2 separate regions of the Homo sapiens genome follow, and region 1 is linked to region 2. The links are contacts of gene promoters, found by promoter capture Hi-C in human tissues and cell types (Jung and others, 2019). All regions are on one chromosome and are shown on one strand. Each heading gives the region's core, a stretch centred on a gene start or on the middle of the fragment in contact. The rest is flanking DNA. Distances are from core to core; before and after follow the strand shown. Region 1 overlaps KAT6B (lysine acetyltransferase 6B). Region 2 holds the start of COMTD1 (catechol-O-methyltransferase domain containing 1).

Evidence for each region. The method cuts DNA at HindIII sites, captures the fragments that hold promoters and counts their contacts. A contact is called where the count stands out against the background at its distance.
Region 1: a contact is called between a fragment that was not itself captured here and the fragment with the promoter of COMTD1 in region 2, in 1 of the 25 tissues and cell types used here (aorta).

Annotation. Positions count from the first base shown.
Region 1 is chr10:74,879,549-74,883,947 of GRCh38, reverse strand. The region is part of intron 3 of KAT6B (lysine acetyltransferase 6B); the gene reads right to left. Among named protein-coding and RNA genes, the nearest start is that of KAT6B, 55 kb to the right of the region's middle. The HindIII fragment of the contact is 7,129 bases long and covers 1-4,399 here.
Region 2 is chr10:75,232,764-75,237,367 of GRCh38, reverse strand. COMTD1 (catechol-O-methyltransferase domain containing 1) reads left to right here and starts at 1,411. Exons shown (of 7, transcript NM_144589.4): 1 at 1,411-1,533; 2 at 1,625-1,752; 3 at 1,996-2,101; 4 at 2,190-2,308; 5 at 2,376-2,430; 6 at 2,625-2,758; 7 at 3,143-3,727. The coding sequence starts at 1,440. The coding sequence ends at 3,295. RefSeq lists silencers at 1,163-1,457, 1,493-1,632, 1,793-1,872, 2,003-2,292, 2,453-2,682 and 1 more and an enhancer at 3,313-3,462. The HindIII fragment of the contact is 14,083 bases long and covers 1-4,604 here.

The DNA.
Region 1 (4,399 bases), core at 626-3,125, 350 kb after region 2:
GGAGCACTGAGACTCATTCAACAGCACATAAGTATGAGTCCTGGAAAGCACAGCTTCAGCACCTCAATAGAAAAGTTTTTCCCCTCACAGTGAAGCAATGAGAGGGCTAAGAAGCACATACTTTTTAAAAATCAAAACAGAATTGGATGAGGATGGGCAGAAGGGTAGGCCTGGGGGCAGAGGACCAGGTCATCCAACAGTCTCCAGGTATAAAGTCTCAATTCTATACATTCATAATGTGTATTTGTGATGTTCCCTCTGGGCTGGCCACCACACTGTATAATCATAAAGTGAGCTTTAATTACCCAAGACCATTCACTAGCTCTTATGAAATGTGTTCTACCTGAAGGACTGCTCAAGAGGGTCACAAATGGCTCATAATTTTTTTCTGCTGGATCTTAAAGCCTACAACTTCCTACTAAAGGAAAGGTCAAAGGAAATACATCTGTAAAATACTGCCAGAGGGGAACAGGAGAAGTAGGGGGCAGCCAACAACTGGGACCTCGGTGATGCCAACCTTAACTGTCATTTCACCCTTTCCCCTTCAAACCATCCCATGGTCCTAAAACCTTTATAATCCTTTTATACTTGACACTATTGTCCCAGAAGAGCTGTTTGTCATCCTGAAATCAAACTGTATCTTCTCCTCTGGGAGCATGTACATTCTGTAATAAGACAGGTAATCCTCAGACAGCGGCAAGCAGAACCGTACTAGGCTCTGATACTGACCTTGACTTTACTGAAAAACGTTAAGTGGTAAAAATTTCATCAAGGTAAGGGAAGAACAAAGGAAGAAACTGTTTCCATGTTTTCCCTTCCATTTTACATGTGCATTATTTCAATCCCATAGCCAATTGTTTGTCATCTCTTTATAAACTTTCGGGAACTCAATAGAAAACAGTACATGAGTCACTCTCTCAAGAGCATACAAATGATGAGGAATACATTCCCATATATATATACTATTATTCACTGAAATTTTTACTTAGCTGTTTTTGATGAAGAAAGCCATATGGTCATGAAAAATACACTATAGGCAAGTTACTGATTCTGACAAAGCTTTCTTAAAATTCAGAAGAAACTATGTGAACCAAACAAACACGAACACATCAACCCTCAGAAAAGATGTTTAAAGAGCAATGCAAAATGTTTTAACTGGACTTTATCAGGCTTCTTAAATACTATAGAATTTCCTTACTGACACATTAGGGAAGAAATTAACTTTTAAAGACAATTGTTTAAGGTAAGCAATCTCACAAAATGTTTATCTAACAGAATCCAGCCATGCTGGCTACAGCATCTCTATTGACATACCTTTAAAAACCACAAATTATTAGGAAATAGGTCTGGAAAAACGTGGCCCATGTAGAAAAAGTCTTTAACAAAGAAAGGTTTATTTCCAAATTACATTAGTATTCACAAGGTGAAACAACTTATTATAGATGCACAGCATTAGTCTCATACACAATAATACCTTTACTAATAAGAGAATATGTCCAAATGTCACATTTCTTTTTTACAAAGTTTAATTACCAGAGGTGAGAACTGATAGGCACAGGAATGAGTTCCAGGGTATCAGATAAGAGGATGGCTGCAGAACGAAATTACTGTAAAATACTAACTAAAAGTCAAACATGCAAGAAAATATAAAATATGCATCAGACAGTTTTAGGATGAGGTTAAGGAAAAGAGTCAGTGAGCCAGATTAATACTAATAGCAAGAGGAAGAATAAGAGGAATCTCTGGTTGAGCAGGGAAGGGGAGACAGCAGGGAAAATCTTGAAGAAGGGGCAGAGCTTTCAGCTCTTAAGTGAAGTTAAAGTGGAAGATGGAGACTCCAGCAGCCCCAGCAGACACATCCACCTCAGGTGGAGGCGCAGCGGGAAGAGCAGGTTCCTTTTGACTGTATTCCCCCATCCCATGGCACCCACCAAGGGTGCTTTCTAGGTCAACCTCGGAAGGAAGCCTCTGGTGTCTAAAACTCCATCCCCAGCCAAGTGTGGTGGTTCACGCTGGTAATCCCAACACTTTGGGAGGCTGAGGCAGGAGGATCGCTTTGAGGCCAGGAGTTTGAGAAGAGCCTAGGCAACATAGCGAGACCCCAGCTCTATAAAATAATTTTAAAAATTAGCCAGGCACAGTGACATGAGACTGTAGTCCCAGTTACTTGGAAAACTGACACAGGAGGATCACTGGAGTCCAGGAGTTCAAAGTTACAGTGAACTACGATTACACCACTGCACTCCAGCCTGGGCAACACAGCGAAACCCCATCTCAATCAATCAATCTCCACCGCCATCTGTGTGCTGGTTAATGGCATCCTTGCAACACAGGGTTTAACACGAAAATTCTGCATGAGACAACATGCAATTGTTTTCAGTATAATCACTCAAAAAGTATCAATGAATGGTTTTAGATTCCTGTGTTTCAACAGAGGGTGGAGCACAGAAGGCATGGGGTGTTTGGAGATAGCCAGAAGCCAAAGGCAGGAGGCAAAGGGCAGTGAAATCACCACTACTGAGTGATGTACAGGGTACAGGCCAGCACCTTACTTTATACAGATTACCTCAGTGAAGCCTCACAACAACCTTATGGACGAGGTGAAAGGAGCCAACTGGGGACAACTCTGATCCTTATAACCCCCAAATCTTAGAAAAACGAGGCTGTCCAGTGAGAGTCCAACTATAAAACCAACAGGGCATGTTAGAGACACAGCCTCCTTAAGGAGGCTTAAAGATGGTTGGGCACAGTGGCTCACACCTATAATCCCAGCACTTTGGGAGGCCGAGGCAGGCGGATCCCCTGAGGTCAGGAGATGGAGACCAGCCTGACCAATATGGTGAAACCCCATCTCTACTAAAATGACAAAAATTAGCTGCACCTGTAGTCCCAGCTACTCCAGAGGCTGAGGTAGGATAATGGCTTGAACCTGGGAGGTGGAGGTTGCAGTGAGCCAAGACTGCACCACTGCACTCCAGCATGGAAGACAGAGTGAGAGTCCGTCTCAAAAAAAAAAAGAGAGAGTAAGATAAGGCCAGGAACAGTGGCTCACGCCTGTAATCCCAACACTTTGGGAGGCCAAGGCAGGAGGATTGCTTGAGCCCAGGAGTTCGAGACCAGCCTGGCCAACATGGTGAAACCCCGTCTCTACTAAAAATACAACAATTAGCTGGGCATGGTGGCGTGCGCCTGTAATCCCAGTTACTTGGGAGGCTGAGGCAGGAGAATTGCTTGAGCCTGGGAGGTGGAGGTTGCAGTGAGCCGAGATTGCGCCACTGCACTTCAGCCCAGGCGACAGACCAAAACTCCATCTCAAAAAAAAACATCAGTAAGACACACCTGAAGACCAGCAATTCCACTGCTAGGTATACAGCCAAGAGAAGTAAAAACGTGTCCACACAAAAATATGTACACAAATGTTCATAGTACTACTACTCATAATAGCCAGAAAGTAGAACCATCAATGTCTAATGAATGAATGAAATAAAATGTGGTATATCCATACAAAGAACTATTATTTGGCAGTTATAAAGAATGAAGTACTGATACATACTACAGCTTAAAAGAACTTGAAAAATTATGCTCAGTGAAAGAAGCCAGTGATTTTTAAAAAAGGCCACATACCATAGGATTCCATTTATATGACATGTCTAAAATACGCAAAGTTATAGAGACAGAAAATAGATGAGTGGTTGCCACAGTCTAAAGGAAGCAGGAAATGGGCAGTGATGCTAATGGGTATAGGATTTCATTTTGGGGTAAGAAAAATGTTCTGGAATTAGACAGTGGTGAATGACTTTGTGAACATACTAAAAACCACTGAATTACACACTTTAAAAAAGTAAATTTTACGATAACGCAAATTATGTCTCTTTTTTTTTAATCTACCTTTATTTTTATTATTATTTTTTGAGATGGAGTCTCACTCTGTCGCCCAGGCTAGAGTGCAATGGCACTCACAATGGATCTCAGCTATAGGTGCCTGTCACCATGTCCAGCTAATTTTTGTATTTTTAGTAGAGACGGGGTTTCACCGTGTTGGCCAGGCTGGTCTCAAACTCCTGACCTCAGGTGATCTGCCAGCTTTGGCCTCCCAAAGTGCTGGGATTACAGGTGTGAGCCACCATGCCTGGCCAGATCTACCTTTAGACAATAACGTATCTAAACACTGTCCATTAGAAGGGGAGACTAGTCAGCACCAGAAGCTTAGAAAGGAAGGAAAAAACAAAAACGACACTGTCTGGGGAGAAGCTTCAGTAACAGGGGGACTAAGAACCCTGAGCTCAGATTCATTGAAAGGCTTCTCAGAATGGCATTAGCACTACAGAATTAATCCCAGGCTGCTGGCAAAGTGAACAGAGTCCCCTGAATTTGGGTAATATAGTAGCCCTAAGATCTC
Region 2 (4,604 bases), core at 162-2,661:
AGGCAGGAGGATCACTTAAAGCCAGGAGTTCGAGACCAGCCTGGACAACATAGTAAGACCCCTTCTCTTTAAAAAAAAAATTTTTTTTTTTAAATTAGCTGGGCACAGTGGTGACCGCCTGTGGTCCCAGCTACTTGGGAGGCTGAGGCAAGAGGATTGCTGAGCCTGGGAGCTCGATGCTGCAATAAGCAGTAATCTTGCCACTGCACTTCAGCCTTGCCAGAGACCTTGCCAAAAAAAAAAAAAAGAACACCAACGCCAGGCACAATGGCTCAGGCCTGTAATCCCAGCACTTTGGAAGGACGAGGCAAACAGATCACTTGAGGCCAGGAGTCTGACACCAGCCTGGCCAAAATAGCAAAACCCGTCTCTACAAAAAATACAAAAATTAGTTGGGTGTAGGGGTGCGTGCCTGTAGTCCCAGCTACTCCAGAGTCTGAGGCAGGAGAATCGCTTGAATCAGGAGGTGGAGGTTGCAGTGAGACCAGATTGTGCCACTGCACTCCAGCCTGGGTGACAGAGCGAGACTCAGTCTCAAAAAAAAAAAAAAAAAGGACAGCGTCAGCGTCTTTCACCTCCTCCGGAGTTTGGCGCATGGTAGGGGTTCAATCAGTGTTCTCTGGACAGTGTTTCAACAGAACAACCTTGCAAGGGAGCTTCACCGGCTTTCTCCCCAAGATGTCTTCATTCCAACCTACCAACATAACAGCAGCTGCCACTTATGTATTGTGCTACTGTGTGCGAAGCTGTGGGATCTGGTGCCTTTTATGGTAAGATTGTAGGCCTCATTTTACAGGAAGGAAACTGAGGCTCAGAGAGACTGGCAGGACCAAGATTAGACACTCGTATCCATCTGGCCCCCAAAAGCAGGATTTTAACAGCTAAGAATATGGTCTCAGTTCCACAGGCCCACCCCAGGGCTCCTGAACCCCAATTCGAGGCTGCATGCCCTCAAACCAGTTCCCTCACTCCTTCAGCCTGATGCTTTGGGGCATCTTGTCCAGGAGGCCTTCCCCCTTTAATCTCTATCTCTTGTACTTGTGACTATCTTGTAACTTACACTGGCGCCCTCCATACACAATTCACATATGCCCCCAAGGGGCCTCAGAATAAATGGTGGCGAGGAGAAAAAAGCATTGGCAGGAGGGGAATGGAGGCAGGCACCTGGACTGCGGGCACAGGCGGGAAAATTCAGATCTAGGCGCTTGGCCTGCTCCCCGCAGGGGCGCAGTTCCCGGCGCGGCCACCAGATCGCGCCCGGCTCTCTCGGGCGGGGCTTGCAGTAAGGCTGTGTGGCCGCCAGATGATGCCCGAGACCGCGGCTCCGCGGGTAGTGCCCCGACAAGGTGGAGCCCGGCGGGCCCGCGAGTCCGAGACCTGTCCCAGGAGCTCCAGCTCACGTGACCTGTCACTGCCTCCCGCCGCCTCCTGCCCGCGCCATGACCCAGCCGGTGCCCCGGCTCTCCGTGCCCGCCGCGCTGGCCCTGGGCTCAGCCGCACTGGGCGCCGCCTTCGCCACTGGCCTCTTCCTGGGTGAGCAGGACCTGGTCCCGGCGGGCGGGTGGGCGGGCGCAGAGTAGGGCGCGGCGTGGCTCAGGTTAATCCAACACCCTCTCCCCGTCAGGGAGGCGGTGCCCCCCATGGCGAGGCCGGCGAGAGCAGTGCCTGCTTCCCCCCGAGGACAGCCGCCTGTGGCAGTATCTTCTGAGCCGCTCCATGCGGGAGCACCCGGCGCTGCGAAGCCTGAGGCTGGTCAGCAGGGCGCGGGACGGAAACGGGCGTCCCTCTCGACCCCTGCGGGTCCCACGTGGCTGTGTGACCTTGGGCTGGGCCCTGGCCCTCCCTGGGCTTCCGGCTTCCCTGGGCCGGGTGCGGTGGGCGTTCCGAAGGGCCAGTCCCCCAGGCCACGCCCAGAACCGCGCCCCTGGGGCTTGGGACCCCCAGGGCGAAGGTGGGTGACCTGCATGGCTGGTGCCACCCTCTCCTTTCACGCAGCTGACCCTGGAGCAGCCGCAGGGGGATTCTATGATGACCTGCGAGCAGGCCCAGCTCTTGGCCAACCTGGCGCGGCTCATCCAGGCCAAGAAGGCGCTGGACCTGGGTAGGGGCACGCGGCCGGGATCCCGGAGGGCCGAGGTTTCCGGGCCGACCCCCACTCTGGGCTGAGCCCGTCTGTGTCCTGGTCCCAGGCACCTTCACGGGCTACTCCGCCCTGGCCCTGGCCCTGGCGCTGCCCGCGGACGGGCGCGTGGTGACCTGCGAGGTGGACGCGCAGCCCCCGGAGCTGGGACGGCCCCTGTGGAGGCAGGTGAGCGCCCGCGCCTAGCTCTGCAGCCCCAGGCGGGGGCGCAACGGCTGACCCGCTCCCTCCGCAGGCCGAGGCGGAGCACAAGATCGACCTCCGGCTGAAGCCCGCCTTGGAGACCCTGGGTGAGCACCGAAGCGGGAAGGGCTTTGAAGCCATTCATTGCAAACGAGGCTGCTGTGTGGCCGAGCTGTGACTGGGCCTGCCGGGCAGGTTAAGGGCAGGGCCGGTTGTCACAGAGCCCGGGCCGGCCTGGGAGGGGCCTCAGGGCCGCCGGGGCCGCGGACTCAGCCGCACCTGCCCTCCCTCCCCCCGCAAGACGAGCTGCTGGCGGCGGGCGAGGCCGGCACCTTCGACGTGGCCGTGGTGGATGCGGACAAGGAGAACTGCTCCGCCTACTACGAGCGCTGCCTGCAGCTGCTGCGACCCGGAGGCATCCTCGCCGTCCTCAGAGTAAGGGATCCACTGCGGGGGAGGAGAAAGCACCCTGTCGGGCCGGGTCCCCATCTTTTCCCTTGACTCCTCTTATACCCCAAAGCCCCACCCAGTCCAGTCACGTAGGCTACACCCCCTCCGGGGCTCCGGCCCCGGTACCCAGGCTTTCCTCCGCTTTGGTTCTGTCTCCAGCTCTGGTCACCTCCTGCCCGGGCACCTCCCTCCGAGGCCCCGCCTCCCGCCCAGACACCTCCCTCCGAGACCCCGCCTTCCGTCTGGGCACCTCCCTCCAAGACCCCGCCTCCCGCCCGGGCACCTCCCTCCCAGTCCCCCGCCTTCCGCCCGAGCACCTCCCTCCGAAGCCCCGCCTCCCACGGCCCGGTTGGCCCCGCCCTCCCGCAGGTCCTGTGGCGCGGGAAGGTGCTGCAACCTCCGAAAGGGGACGTGGCGGCCGAGTGTGTGCGAAACCTAAACGAACGCATCCGGCGGGACGTCAGGGTCTACATCAGCCTCCTGCCCCTGGGCGATGGACTCACCTTGGCCTTCAAGATCTAGGGCTGGCCCCTAGTGAGTGGGCTCGAGGGAGGGTTGCCTGGGAACCCCAGGAATTGACCCTGAGTTTTAAATTCGAAAATAAAGTGGGGCTGGGACACACGACCTCCTGAGCCTCCGTGTGTGGCGCTGGATGGGGAAGGGAGGGAAGGCCCAGCACAGACAGCTCCTGCCTTCAGTGAAAGGGGCCTTGAGATTCGTCCCCTCCCTGGCGCCAGGTCTGTGGCCCAACTGCAGGAACCTCCAGCTGGCAGGAGGCAGGTTATAAAGTTTTAACTGGCCTGGCCACGTGTAATGGCCAGAGACCCCAGCACCTCGGGCTTGTCTGCCTCCTACATCTCTCCCTCAGGGCAGGCGAAGCTCTGGTTCTGAGCAGCTGGGACTGGTAGAGAGCCACGTCTGGTGTCTGACAACATGAAAGAGGATTGCAGGGGACCACGGGTGTCACTTGTGTGCTTTTGTAGGTGATGCCAGTTCTGCTGGCGGCTTGCTCATGTCTTCACAGCACAGTCAGCTCCCCAGCCTCACCTCTCCAGTGGAGGCCCTGGTGGGGGAACATCACCTCTAAGAGCCAGGCCAGTTGGCCTGGACCTGAGGACCTCGGGGTTGACTTGAGTATCCTGCCGTGGGGTTGACTTGAGTATCCTGCCGTCTCCTTGAAATTCTTAAGTGAGGGGGATCACTGGCCAGGGAGGCGTGAAGCAGACAAGCCTATAGGTACAGCAGTTGTTACTACACTCCCTAGAGGATGAAGAGAACTTCAGGCTTTCCTGAACCATCTGCCTATGAGGGGAGGTGGAGAAGGAACCAGGCCTCATGGAGCACCTTCGACCCAGGTGCTCTGCTTATTTAAATCTCCCCAACCTCACAGATCTTATCTCCACTGGCAGATGGTCAAATTCTTTCCACTGACACTGCCTCAGGCATAAGTGGCATTAGCCTGGAATTCAAGCAGCTTTTGCCACTACCTGGTAAGCCTCGGTGGTGGGAAGTGTCCCTGGAGACTGATGGAAGCAGAGCTAAAAGAGCCACATGAGGCTGGGCACAGTGGCTCACGCCTGTAATCCCAGCACTTTGGGAGGCTGAGGCAGGTGGATCATTTGAGGTCAGGAGTTCGAGACCAGCCTGGTCAACATGGTGAAATCCGGTCGCTACTAAAAATACAGAAATTAGACAGGTGTGGTGATACACGCTTGTAATCCCAGCTACTCGGGAGGCTGAGGCAGAATTGCTTGAACCCGGGAGACGGAGGTTGCAGTGAGCCGAGACCGCACCACTGCACTCCAGCCTGAGCAACGAAGTGAGACTCCGT